Regions from separate parts of the Homo sapiens genome. Here region 1 is linked to region 2. Evidence: promoter capture Hi-C in 16 types of primary human blood cells and fetal thymus (Javierre and others, 2016). All regions are on one chromosome and are shown on one strand. Each heading gives the region's core, a stretch centred on a gene start or on the middle of the fragment in contact. The rest is flanking DNA. Distances are from core to core; before and after follow the strand shown.

Region 1 (6,220 bases), core at 2,998-5,497, 580 kb after region 2:
CCTCACAGGGAAGTCATAAAGTAATATATATTACAAAATGCAGTTTGAGGCTGGACATGGTGGCTCACATCTGTAATCCCAGCACTTTGGGAGGCCAAGGCAGGCAGATCACCTAAGGTCAGGAGTTTGAGACCAGCCTGACTAATATGGTAAGACCCCATCTCTACTAAAAATACAAAAATTAGGCGTGGTGGCAAGCACCTGTAACCCCAGCTATTCAGGAGGCTGAGGCAGAAGGATCGCTTGAACCCGGGAGGCGCAGGTTGCAGTGAGGGAGATCATGCCACTGCACTCCAGCCTGTGACAGAGAGATTCCATCTCAAAAAAAAAAAAAAAAAAAAAAAAGCCATTTTAACTGGAGCGAGATGATATTTCATTGTAGTTTTGATTTGCATTTTTCTGATGATCGGTGATGTTGAGCACCTTTTCATATACATGTTGTCATTCTTATGTCTTCTCTTGAGAAATTTATTTCAAATGTTTTGCTCTTTTTAAAATCAGATCATTAGATTTTTCCCATAGAGTCATTTAAGCTCCTTATATATTCTGCTTATTAATCCCTTTTCAGTTGGATATTTGGCAAATATTTTCTTCCATTCTGTGGGTTATCTCTTCACTTTTGTTGATTGTTTCCTTTGCTGTGCAGAAGCTTTTTAATATGATGTAATCCCGTTTGTCCATTTTTGCTTTGGTTGTCTGTGCTTATGGAGTATCCCTCAAGAACTATTTGCCCACTCCAATGTTCTGAGAATTTCCCCAATGTTTTCTTTTAGTAGTTTCATAGTTTAAGGTCTTGTATTTAAGTCTTTAGTCCATTTTGATTTTATTTTTGTATATGGTGAGAGACAGGGGTCAAGTTTCATTCTTTTGCGTATGGATATTCAGTTTTCCAGCATCAAGTATTGAACAGACAATCCTTTCCCCAATGTATGTTGGCTCTTTTGTCAAAAATGAGAATATGTATGGATTTGTTTCTGAGTTCTCTATTCTGTTCCATTGGTCTTTGTGTCTGCTTTTATACAAGTACCATGCTCTTTTGATTACTATAGCTTGTTGTATAATTTGATTCCTCCAGTTTGGGAGGTAATGTGGTTCCTCTAGTTTTGTTCTGCTCAGGATAGCTTTGGCTATTCTATATCTTTTGTGGTTCCACATACATTTTAGGATTGTTGTTTCATTTCTGTGAAAAAATGCCAGTGATATTTTGATAGGGATTGCACTGAATTGGTAGATTGAGTGCAATGGGTAGTATGAACATTTTAACAATATTGATTTTTCCAGTCCGTGAACTTGGAATAACTTTTTATTTGTGTGTGTGTGTGTGTGTGTGTGTGTGTGTGTGTGTGTGTGTTCTCTTTCTTTCATCGATGTTTTATAATTTTCATTGTAGAGATATTTCACTTCTTTGGTTAATTTCTAGGTATTTTATTTGAGTTGTAGGTATTGTAAATAGGATTACTTCTTAAATTTCTTTTTCAGATTGCTCACTGTTGGCATGTAGAAATGCTACTGATTTTGTATGTCAACTTTATATCTTGCAACTTTACTGAGTTTGTTCAGTAGTACAAAATGAATTTAAACTTTTCTGAACAATTTGAACTTCTCTGAAAAGTTCAAAAAGTCCAGAAAAAAAGTTCAAATTGAATTTGAACTTTTCCAAATCAGTTCTAATAGTTTTTTTTGGTGGCATCTTTAGGCTTTTCTAAACATAAGATCATGTCATCTGCAAGCAACGATAACTTGACTTCTTCCTTTCTAATTTGGATGCCCTTTCTTTCTCTTGTCTGATTGCTCTAGTTAGGACTTCCAAACAATTAGTTCTGATTTATGGGAACTTGTAAAGTGGAAGAAAAAGAGAAAGGGAATAAAAGAGATTATAGGAAAGGGGGAGTAGGCATGTTCAGATAGTGGAAAGGATAAAAAGAGATGGAATAGAAAGTATCAGAAGGTGATGAAATGAATGGATCATAAAACCTCAGTGTTAGCAATGAACAAAGGGATCAGTTTGGTCATATTCTTAGCCAGCATTTGATTCTTCTCAGAAATATTCCAGACAGAATGGTTGAATATTCTGTCTGGAATATGTACTTAAATCCCTACTGCTGGATAGTTCATAAATTCCCAAGATAGCTAATTATTTTTTGATAGTTCTGATTTTTGGAAGAGTCTTCTTTAGCCTACTTGTGCTCTGTGGCAAGAACTACTAAAACCTCAATAACTAGCCTACAGCCCTTCTGTGTGTAACTCCTATGTGTAACTTAATTATCCTCTAATATCTGTGAGCAATTTCTATCCTCTTGGCTTTATTTTCTAAGACATTTTATGATCTGAGATTCTATGATGTATTTTTCTCCCTGTTTATTGCCTTTCTTTCAGGCTAAAACCTAAATCTAATGAAGGCAAGGAGTTTGTGACTTTTGTTCATCTCTTTATCACCAGTATGAGGAATAGTGACAGGTATGTAGTGGGCATTCAATGAGTATTCCTTAAATGAATGACCCAAAGAATAAACAAATCAATGAATGTGTGATTTCAAGTTGCTTCATCATGGCCATGCGTCTCAGAATATATTTCAGAATGCCAGTGGCCTCTTAAATAGTAATATCAACAAAGTAAATTACTTTCAAGTGGACACAGTCTAATTGCTGTTGTGCAAGTGATAACTAGAATGTTCCTCATTCTAAATACTAAAATGTAGCTAATGCAGACAAGGTAACAGTAACTTTCTAGGTAGTTATGCTTTTTACTTATATTGTCAAAAATCCTTAATTCTCTGGAGTTAAATAAAGTTTTTCCCACTCTCTCCATTTTTATAGAAGTATAGAATCTTATATTACCCATGTACATTTTTAAAATCTCATTAAATGCGACTATCACTCCAGCCTTTAAAAGTCTTTGTGAATCATGCTCTGTCATCCATTAAATCAACTATTTCAAGGCTGAGGATCGTGACTCAGGCTTCTAATTCCAGCACATTGGGAGGCCAAGTTTGGAGGATTACTTGAGGCCAGAAGTTCAAGACCAGCCTGGGCTTTCAAAAGTAATATGTTCAATAAATTGTTTTTAATGTTTATTTGCCCTTCCTCTTCTGTCATCTCCCATTTCTCTAATACATTTTCGAAGATTATATTGACCATCAGAAAATTTTGTTTCATAATCTCCAAAAATGTCTTAATCATTCTCTAATATAAAATATACATTTTTAAGTGATGATAATTTTTCTCTCTCCGAGAGAGACAGAAACTTACAAAGATCCTATAACAACTTTTTATATGGTTTATTTTTTCTGGCTGCCAATGAGAACCCTCTTTGTCAGGATGACTGCCTTCCCCTAGTCATCTTCTTCAGTGCATTTTTCACATCCTTGTTCCTCAGGCTATAGATTAGAGGATTCAGCATGGGGATTATTGTGATGTAGAACACAGAAGACACCTTCTCTTTTTCCATAGTAGTGCTGGAAGGGGGCTTGAAATACATGAATGTTATAGACCCAAAAAAGATGCCCACAGCCAAGAGATGGGAGCTACAAGTGCCAAAGGCTTTGGATTGCCCCTCAGTGGAATGAATACCAAGGATACTAGAGAAAATGAAAGCATAAGAGATAAGGACCGCCAGTGTAGTTGCTAAGGTATTAACTCCTCCAATAATGAACAGCAGAATCTCATTGATGTGGGTGCTGGAGCAAGACAGAGTCAATAAGGGGAGAATATCACAAAAATAATGACTGACCGTATGAGACCTACAGAATGACAACACTGACATGCGGGTAGTATGGACTGTGGCCCACAGAAAACCCAGTGAGTATACCACAGCCATCATTATGGAACAGACCCTGTGGGACATGACAATATTGTAAAGCAGTGGGCGACAGATAGCAACATAACGGTCATATTCCATGGCTGTCAGAAGGTAGCCTTCTGCAATTACAAAAATAAGGAAGAAATAAAGTTGAGTAATGCATTCCAGAAAGGAGATAATGTTCTCCTCTGGAACAAAGTTCACCAGCATCTTAGGGGTAATGACAGAGGAGTAGCAGAGATCAATGAAAGACAAATGACTGAGAAAATAATACACTGGAGGGTAAAGTTGAGAACTGAGAGCAATTAAGAAGATCATGCCCAGGTTCCCCACCACTGTGACCACATATATTCCAAGGAACAGGAGGAAGAGTGGCAGTTGAAGTTCTGGGCGTTGTGTCAAGCCTGCCAGGATAAACTCAGCCCCTGAAGAATGGTTTGAAGTAGCCATGTCTTTTAAGGTATTATGTGTAATAAGAAATAAGAGAAAAGAGAGACATTAGATTTATTTTCTGATTCCCAAAGCAGAATGACATGCCCCATGTTGGTTGCTTCCATTCCTGAGAGCCTCATCTGTCCCATGATTGCCTCTTTTCAGGGACCTCTTACAAGATCAAGGGCAAATATTATGAGTATAACCAAGAACCTTGATTTCACCCAAAACCCTGTTGAATGCTCCTCTTTTAGTAAGAGTCCTCCCATTTTGTTTCCAGGCTTATGCCCATAATTACCTCACTGCTGGAGGAAGCACAAACTTTCCAAATCTAATTAGTTTGTCATTGCTACCATTAAAACAACACTGCTTACCTTCTTTATCTGAGCATATGCCAATAGAACCTTCAGACTTTGTTACAACATGGCTTCTAATCCAGCTCTGATGATATAAAAGTAGTCCATTTCAGTTTCCTTACCCATCAACATGAATCAACATAATTAGCATTTGCTAAAACTAGGAAATAAGAAACATAAAAGACGTCTATAAAGAGACCTTAGTACAAAAAAAAAAAGTATGGAAATGGTTCTAATCAATTCTGACCCTCATTAGCTCACTTCTGTTCTTTGAATGGAAAACTTGAGTGGGCCAGGAGATTCTTGTACTCAGTGTGGATGTGGTTGACAGAAATGTTGTGCCAAGGGCTATCCTGAGATTCTAGTTTAGATCTTTCCTGTTCCAGAAACAGCAAAGAAGCAAAGAAGTAAGGCTGACTTTCAGGTGTAAGACCTGAACCATCAGCAACTCAGCGCTTCCCTCCTTGGCCCTTTCCTGCTATCCATTATTCATGGCCAAACTCTCACTGACCTTTCTCTTTCAAAGCTGTGAGATCTGAACTGGAGATTTCTTATTCCCTGACTTCGTTTCCCCTAAAGTTTAAGCAAAGGATTCAGGGTGTGTTGCTTTCAGCTGAAACACTGTATATTACCTAAGACATCAGGTTTCATAATTTTTTTCCAAAGTGAGAAAAAATGTCAAGGGAGGAAAAACTCCATACATAGAGTGAGATGTTGTTTGCTTTTATTTTGCATAAAAACATATTTTTATGATCACAAACAAAAATTTATAAAAATTTGCTTCTACAGTGTTTTAAGGGTACTCAATATGTATATCGATTTAAAAGCTGACAGGTGGGGTGTTATCTCCAAGAGCACTTGAGAAGACAGCCATGTTTCTGAATTAGGGGAATTAGAGAATACTCTAAGAGAAAGAGAATCAGAGTTACCAGAATGCAACTCTAACAAGCCCTGTTACGGGAAGTTCAGGAATTCTAGATTTTTAGCCTTACTTGGAAAAATATTCTACCAAATGACTGAATTAGCCAAAAAGAGAATTTGTTGAAGAAAAATAGCAGAGAGCTTATTTAGAGAGAGACAGTACACTCTGGAAAGGTGAGACAGAGCTGGCTGCTGAAGGGGAGTGAGCCAGCAGCAGCTTGAGAGTTCTGCACTGGGTTTTTGAGATGATGTCCGACACTTTCTTGAAGTTCCCACCTCTGTCGTGAGCCTCTGCCTTTTCCTTTGTCCAGGTTCCTGCTTCTGCCTTAAGTCCCCTTCTCTTCCCTGCCTAGTTCCCATGCCAGGCTTGTGGAACCCTCCCTTACTATTGGCTGATGTGCATGCATGGACCCTGTGTTGGATATGAATCCTGCCTAACAGCCGCATTGCCACCCAAGGGAGGCTGCTTAATAATAGGTCTAGTGATTGAAGCACATTCTTTCCTATATCCGTAACATTTCTATATTGATATATTCCCAAATTATTTTCATCACAGAACTATCACAAATAATGCCTAGAGTATTTCTTTTAGAAAAGACTATCTCAATAAAGTAGAAAGGTTAAGAATTTAAAATTACGTGCTATGGAATGAGAACTTTACCCTCTTTATTACTCATTAAGCTAAGCATAATGATATATAACATACTACTTTT
Region 2 (6,260 bases), core at 2,731-5,230:
TTATTCTAAACTGTTTTTGATGGTTATATATGGCAGGCCTAGGAGGCAATGTTAGACAGTAGATAGTTGCCTTCGGCGGAGGGTGACCTGTGTTCTGTCCACTGCTCTACATTGTAAAGAGGTGTCATCTTGGACAAGTCACGGCAGCTCATGTTGAGTCTTGGGATGATTCTTTATCTAAAGGTAGAGAACTGAACCAGCTTTTTGATGGTGATGAGGAGGGGTTTTGAGAGGAACAAGGATATACAGCATCTCTATTGAATATTTGGGCCATAATGTAACAGCCTAGGATGCTGAGATTTACTCAAGAGCTGAGGACGGCTAGGGGCCAAACACAGATTTTTAAGTTTTGAGATAGGGTTTACTCTGTTGCTAAGACTGGAGTGCAGTGGCAAGATCACAACTCACTGCAATCTCTGCCTCCCAGGTTCAGGCCATCCTCCCACCCCAGCCTCCTAAGTATCTGGGACTACAGCACATGCCACCATGCCCAGCTAATGTTTAAATTTTTTATAGAGAAGGGGTCTTGCCATGTTGCCCAGGCTGGTCTCAAATACCTGGGCTCAAGTGATCTGCCAGCTTTGGCCTCCCAAAGTGTTAGGATTACAGGTGTGAGCCACTGCACCCAGCCTCAAATACAGATTTTTAAGAGGCCAGATTTATACACCTGGCCATCATGGTCATGTTGGTTAACCTCCATCATGAAGCTAGGCTTTTTAACCTTCAGGAAAACTACCCCAGAGCAGTTAATGGCCTAAATAAAGGAGGTCAAGCTATATGTCTCAGTTTAAAACAGAACATGACAAATTAACCTGAAGCAGGAAAAGGAGGGGACATCAAACCTGACACCCATCCTGATAAGAGTAACTGCTCTCATTTGACAGCCAGAGTTAAACTAGATGTATGCAATCTCTACAACAAACATAGTCAATGCCAATCAGATAGTCAGAGGAACCATCATTTAATGGGAAATAACGCAATAACATATATAACAGAGCTGACCGGAGGTGTTGCTATAGATAATTCATAACAGCAGTAAATTCAAAAGTCATTTACTATGTTTTTAGCTTTGTCATTAACACAGCCTGTGTGGATACTCCCTGTTTCACGTCTAGATGACTTCCTCCTGGCTTTGCTCAAGGGTCCTTTAGCATTTGAGGAGATGATAAGGGATGGGATCCCCGCCTGTTGAACCAGAGGAATCTGAGGAGTACCAGGTTTCCACTGAAGACTAAATCATGATCCAGAGAAGGAATCTCAGAAGTCATTCTTGTCGTGGGCATGGCTTAACGTCTGTCTCCCCACTGTGGGCCCTGCCCTCGAGAGCAAGGGTCTCCTTATTCATTTTTATATTCCCAGTGCCTACCACTTTGTGGAGCCCTTAGTAGAAAAGGTATTCAATAAACGCACATTGAGTTTAAGCTTTCTATTTCTCCTCCCCCAACTAGTATATATTACAGAAGCACTGAAAATTCAGAAATCAGCCAGTGTCAGGGCTCCTGGGTAATAAACCATTCACAGGGATAGCTGTAGGAATTTGGCATAAGCATTTATTCCAATCTCTTGGGGGTAATCAAGTGGCATAATCATGCCCTGCTTTACTGTGTAGCATAAGGCCAGTAGAGAAAAACATCAAGAGGGGAGGAGGACAAGGGATGGAGTTCAATACACAAATATCTACTGAGCGTCAATTACGTGTCCCACACTATTCAAGGTGCTGGGCAAAGAAAGATAAAAAAAGCAGAAGCTCTGACCTTGAGGAACTTAACAGGTAGTTAAGAAATTGCAGAATTTTAGCAATACTAGGAATTCACAGCAAAAGCCCAGAATACAGGTGTAATATTTTGATCAAAACGTGAAGCCCCTATCAAGAGAATTAAGAAAATCAAGGGGAAGAACTTATCAATATTTCACCTCAAATTTGGCATATAGCATTCAGTTGTTTTAAGTACGCTTTCTTAATTTTGCGAACAAAATATTCAGACCTAAGTGATTATCTATAAAAGATCAGATTACTAGTTTCCAACACAGAAGTACTCAAACAAAGGTATTCTGAACCTCAACCTACTGCAATACATATATCACATTTGGCCAAAAGGTAGTTGTTCTCAAAGTGAAGAACCCAGATCTGCAGCATCAGTACCTGAGCCTTGTTAGAAGTACAAATTCTCAAGCCCCAGCACAGACCTATTACCAGAAACTCTAGGGGTGGGCCCCAGCAATATGCGTTTAACTAGCCCTTCAGGTGCTTATAGTAAGTTTGAGAACCACCACCTAGCAAATGAAGTAAATCTGAAGTTCATGCAGAAAGCCATTGCTGGCCAAACTAAAGGGTTTGCTGGTGAGAGAACAGCAAAAACAAGGGGTATAGAACTGTTTCACATTTTAAATCTGTGCCAAATTTACTGGGAAAAAAAAATGTAAACCTGTAACTTACCTCATCTGTACAATTTGCAATGGCTGAGTCCCTCACATTGTGGTAAACCTTGTTGTACCCTTGGAATGATTGTCTACTGCAATATAGTATATACACAGAGTACAAAAAGGGTATAGCTGGAGGAGAAAGGGTGAAAGATTATGAATCCCAGGCGTTTGGTCCTAGGAGGAAAAATTCCTGTCCTCTCTCCAACCCTGCCCACCCTCTTATGCTAGATAGTAACAGCAGAAAGTTATCCCAGACTGCTCCGCGTTCACACGCTTCCCACCAACAAACCTCCTCCCAAGGCTATCCCACAACCTTTCTGAAGTAGCTTCCTGGATCAAGCCCCACGGGGCAGCTTGGAAGAGAAGCTGGGAGGGATGAGGGGCTCCACTAGCATTCCTTGTGGCTTCTGAGTGTAGCTGCCCTGGGTGTCACCTGCAGAGCGTGGATAGAGAAAAAGCAACAGTTCTAAGCCCAGCCTCTAATTGAGAGCCTGGGATCTAGCGCTGCTCCCCAGGACCAAGGTTGTTCAAGAAAGGCTGGGTCTAAGAGTCTCCCTCTGGGGAGGTCAGTACAGATTCCAAGGCAGACAGGGTTATCAAAGCGCCTAGAAGATGAGAACATTCATTGTTCAGAAAAACAAAAATTAGACTGACACCTTTCTGAAGGAACACAGCCTATCCATGGCACAAAAACAAATTTTTAATCAAGACACTCAAGAAGTAGGTATACTCCTGCTAAAAGTAACGCAGGTGCTGAGAAGAGGTGCCAAAACTGGCTGTTAGGAGTGGGAGGAGAGGAAAGTTGCAAGTGGAGACAGCAGCTACTGGCTTGAGGGGACCTCAGGGTCTGTCACAGTGGCAGCTGAAAAGCCTCTGGCCAAATGGACGCCAAGGACTACTATCATCACAGGTGACAAGATCACGGGTGAGTGTATCTGGGTGTGTGCTGGGGGGCTGAGGGGGGCTTGGTGGTGTAAGGAGATGGGGCTAGCCGGGGCAAGGAGCCCGCGGAGATGATCTTAAGCAATCTGAGAGGAGGGGTAAGAAAAAGCTGCGGAAAATAAAGGGGCCTAGACCACTCCTCCCTCGGTTCCGGGGGGACAGTTGGCGCGGAAGCGTTAGGAGGTACGAGGTACGGACTAACTACATTTCTGCAGGCCCCAGGAGGGGGCGGAGGGCGGTGGCTGGAAAGGAAAGGAAGCCGGGAGCGCCATCCGTGTCCCCGGAGATACTGGCTCCGGCCACCAGGAAACACAGAGACCACAACGTCTCGGCACCCTCAGTACACCGCCGCCACCCCTTCCCCAGGACACGGCGATTTCCCCAGACTCTGGGGGGCGGGGTCTCCGGTCCCTCCCCCTCCTCCCCGCCCTGCCCGGCTCTGCCCGATCTGGTCCGGCCCGGTCCAGCCCGGCCCGGCCCAGCCCAGCCCACTCAGGACTCACGGCTCCGACAGCTCCGGCGGCTCCTCCCCTGCCCCGGCTTCTCTCCCACCCACTCCCGACCGAAACAGCGCCGCCGGATCCGAGCCGCGCGGGGCCTAGCGGGTCGGAACACGTGGGGCCTTTGCGCCCGGAACCGGAAGCGATCGCTCGCCCCGCCTTCTCGCCGAGTAGGAGCCTTTCTAGGCTGTGGGAGGTTTGATCCTCTCTATGCGCCCTCCGCGGGTTGCGGCTCAGTGCTCCCCAAGGACCCAGTGCGAAGAAGCCTCGGACCCCACAGCTGCCGTCCGCGACCCCTAACTCCACTCTGCAGCGAATAAATTAACATCTTGGGCCTTTCATTTACAGGCATACCTTCTGCAAGGGTTTTCTTTTTCTTTTCTTTTTTCTTTTCTGTTTTTGATCTTTTGTGTGTTTGTTTTCATTTGGATACCTCTACGTGTTTTTCTTGATTTTTTTTTCTTTGCATTGTCCGCTGCAACATGGTAGAAAAGGGCAGCGTTAGGTTTGAATACTGGCTCTTGCAGTCACCATCAGCAGCAGGGCCTCGGCCGAATCTCTCCATCTTTGAACCCTATTGTGCATCATATAAAACGGGCATAATAATACCGTTACTCTGAGGACTAAATGATACATTGCACATGAACTGAATGGAACATCAGAAGCTCAGAAAGAAAATAGTTATGGTATCACTGTTCTTTCTTTTCCTTTGAGTGTTGCTTCGTATTTCTTTACTTTCAGGCTGTCTTCCCTGATCTCATTTGTTCATTTTTGTCCGTTCGGTGACCTTTCTGCCCATACTTGACATTTTCCTTTGCTCTCTGTCCCTTTTACCCTGTAAGTCACCACTCTCCACGTGCCATGTGCCACTTCCTTTTCATGGGACACATTGCTGGGATCTGTTTACTGGGTTTGAACCAAAGGATTAGTTACTTTTGGTGGAGTGGCAGTGTATTAGCGAAACAGAACTAATAGGTGTGAACCCAGAAGGCAGGACAACTCAAAGCGGGGAGGGGGCTTCCAGGTCATAGGTAGATAAGACACAAATGGTTGCATTGAGTTGCTGATTAGCCTCTCCGGAAGGAGGCAATCAGATATGCATTTATCTCAGTGAGCAGAGAGGTGACTTTGAATAGAAGGGGAGGCAGGTTTGCCCTAAGCAGTTCCCAGCATGAATTTTCCCTTTAGTGATTTTGGGGGCCCCAAATCACTTTCCTTTCACACGGGGTATGTATAAACATATAAAAGGAGATTTATTATAAGGAGTTGGCTTACATAATTATGGACGTTGAGAAGTCCCACCATCTGCTTACTGCAAGCTGGAGAAATAAGGAGGTTGGTGGTATAATTCAGTCTAAAGCTGAAGGCCTGAGAACTGGAAAGGGATTGAGGTGCTGGTGTCTGAAGGCCAGAGAGCAGGAGGAGATGATGTCCCAGCTCAAGAAGAGAGAGGTGAATTTACTTTTCCTCTGCCTTTTTATACTATTTGGGCCCTCAATGGATTGGATGGTGCCTACGCATAGTGGTGAGAGTGATTTTCTTTACTCAGTCTACTGATTCAAATGCTAATCTCTCTCTCTTTTTTTTTTTTTTTTTTTTTTTTGGACAGAGTCTTGCTCTGTCGCCCAGCGATCTCGGCTTACTGCAATGTCTGCCTCCTGGGTTCAAGCAATTCTCCTGCCTCAGCCTCCCGAATAGCTGGGATTACAGGCATGTGCCACCATGCCCAGCTATTTTTTTTTTGTGTGTGTGTATTTTTAGTAGAGAGGGGGTTTCACCATATTGGCCAGAAACACCCTCACAGACACACCGACTAATAATGTTTTCTGTTGTCTGGGCATCCCTTAGCTAGTCAAGTTGACACATAAAATTACCCAATACAAAGAGAAATATACATTTCATGAAAGCCTACTGTGTACCAAATATTTTTCTCTGTAAATCTCATTGAATATTTTAAAATATTGGTATTAAGTGCATAAATAATACATAAACATCTTCTTCTAAACATTTAATGCATTACAGTGTTAAAGGAAAAATTATTCAGTGATACTTGTTAGAGCATGGTAAGGGAGACCTTATTCAGGACCAGGAAAGGTAAAGAAACCACTGCAATGAAGTCTTGCTGTAGGGATGAGAGATTGGGCTGAACTCTGAATACAGAATGGGCAAGTGGGAATTTATAGTCAAGGAACTTTTTTTGGAGTTTGGGACGTCGATGGATTGAAAATTACTAAGGGGAAACATCAGGCTTAAGGCGGATTCTGGCTAAGTCAACCTAATAGGATTCTTGCTGAAGACAGGCCAGGTTGATCAGACATCACCTGGGGCGTGATGGAGGATGAGGACACTGACCAGGTATTAAGGATGGTCAGATATCAAGGATGGGGGCGTTCC

Evidence for each region. Contacts are between HindIII fragments. The CHiCAGO score rates a contact against its expected background, and 5 or more counts as called.
Region 1: the fragment with the promoter of OR8D2 here is called in contact with the fragment with the promoter of ZNF202 in region 2 in 1 of 17 cell types (naive B cells); the score reaches 5.4 in naive B cells.

What each region holds. Positions count from the first base shown.
Region 1 is chr11:124,315,950-124,322,169 of GRCh38, forward strand. OR8D2 (olfactory receptor family 8 subfamily D member 2) reads right to left here and starts at 4,248. Exons shown (of 1, transcript NM_001002918.1): 1 at 3,313-4,248. The coding sequence starts at 4,248. The coding sequence ends at 3,313. It overlaps LOC112268069 (a long non-coding RNA gene), which reads left to right and starts at 111. Exons shown (of 3, transcript XR_002957213.2): 1 at 111-149; 2 at 2,377-2,457. The HindIII fragment of the contact is 6,670 bases long and covers 648-6,220 here.
Region 2 is chr11:123,737,680-123,743,939 of GRCh38, forward strand. ZNF202 (zinc finger protein 202) reads right to left here and starts at 3,981. Exons shown (of 9, transcript NM_003455.4): 1 at 3,870-3,981; 2 at 2,738-2,857; 3 at 2,438-2,513. RefSeq lists enhancers at 3,367-3,576, 4,566-5,163 and silencers at 3,757-3,886, 3,927-3,976. The HindIII fragment of the contact is 6,844 bases long and covers 1,421-6,260 here.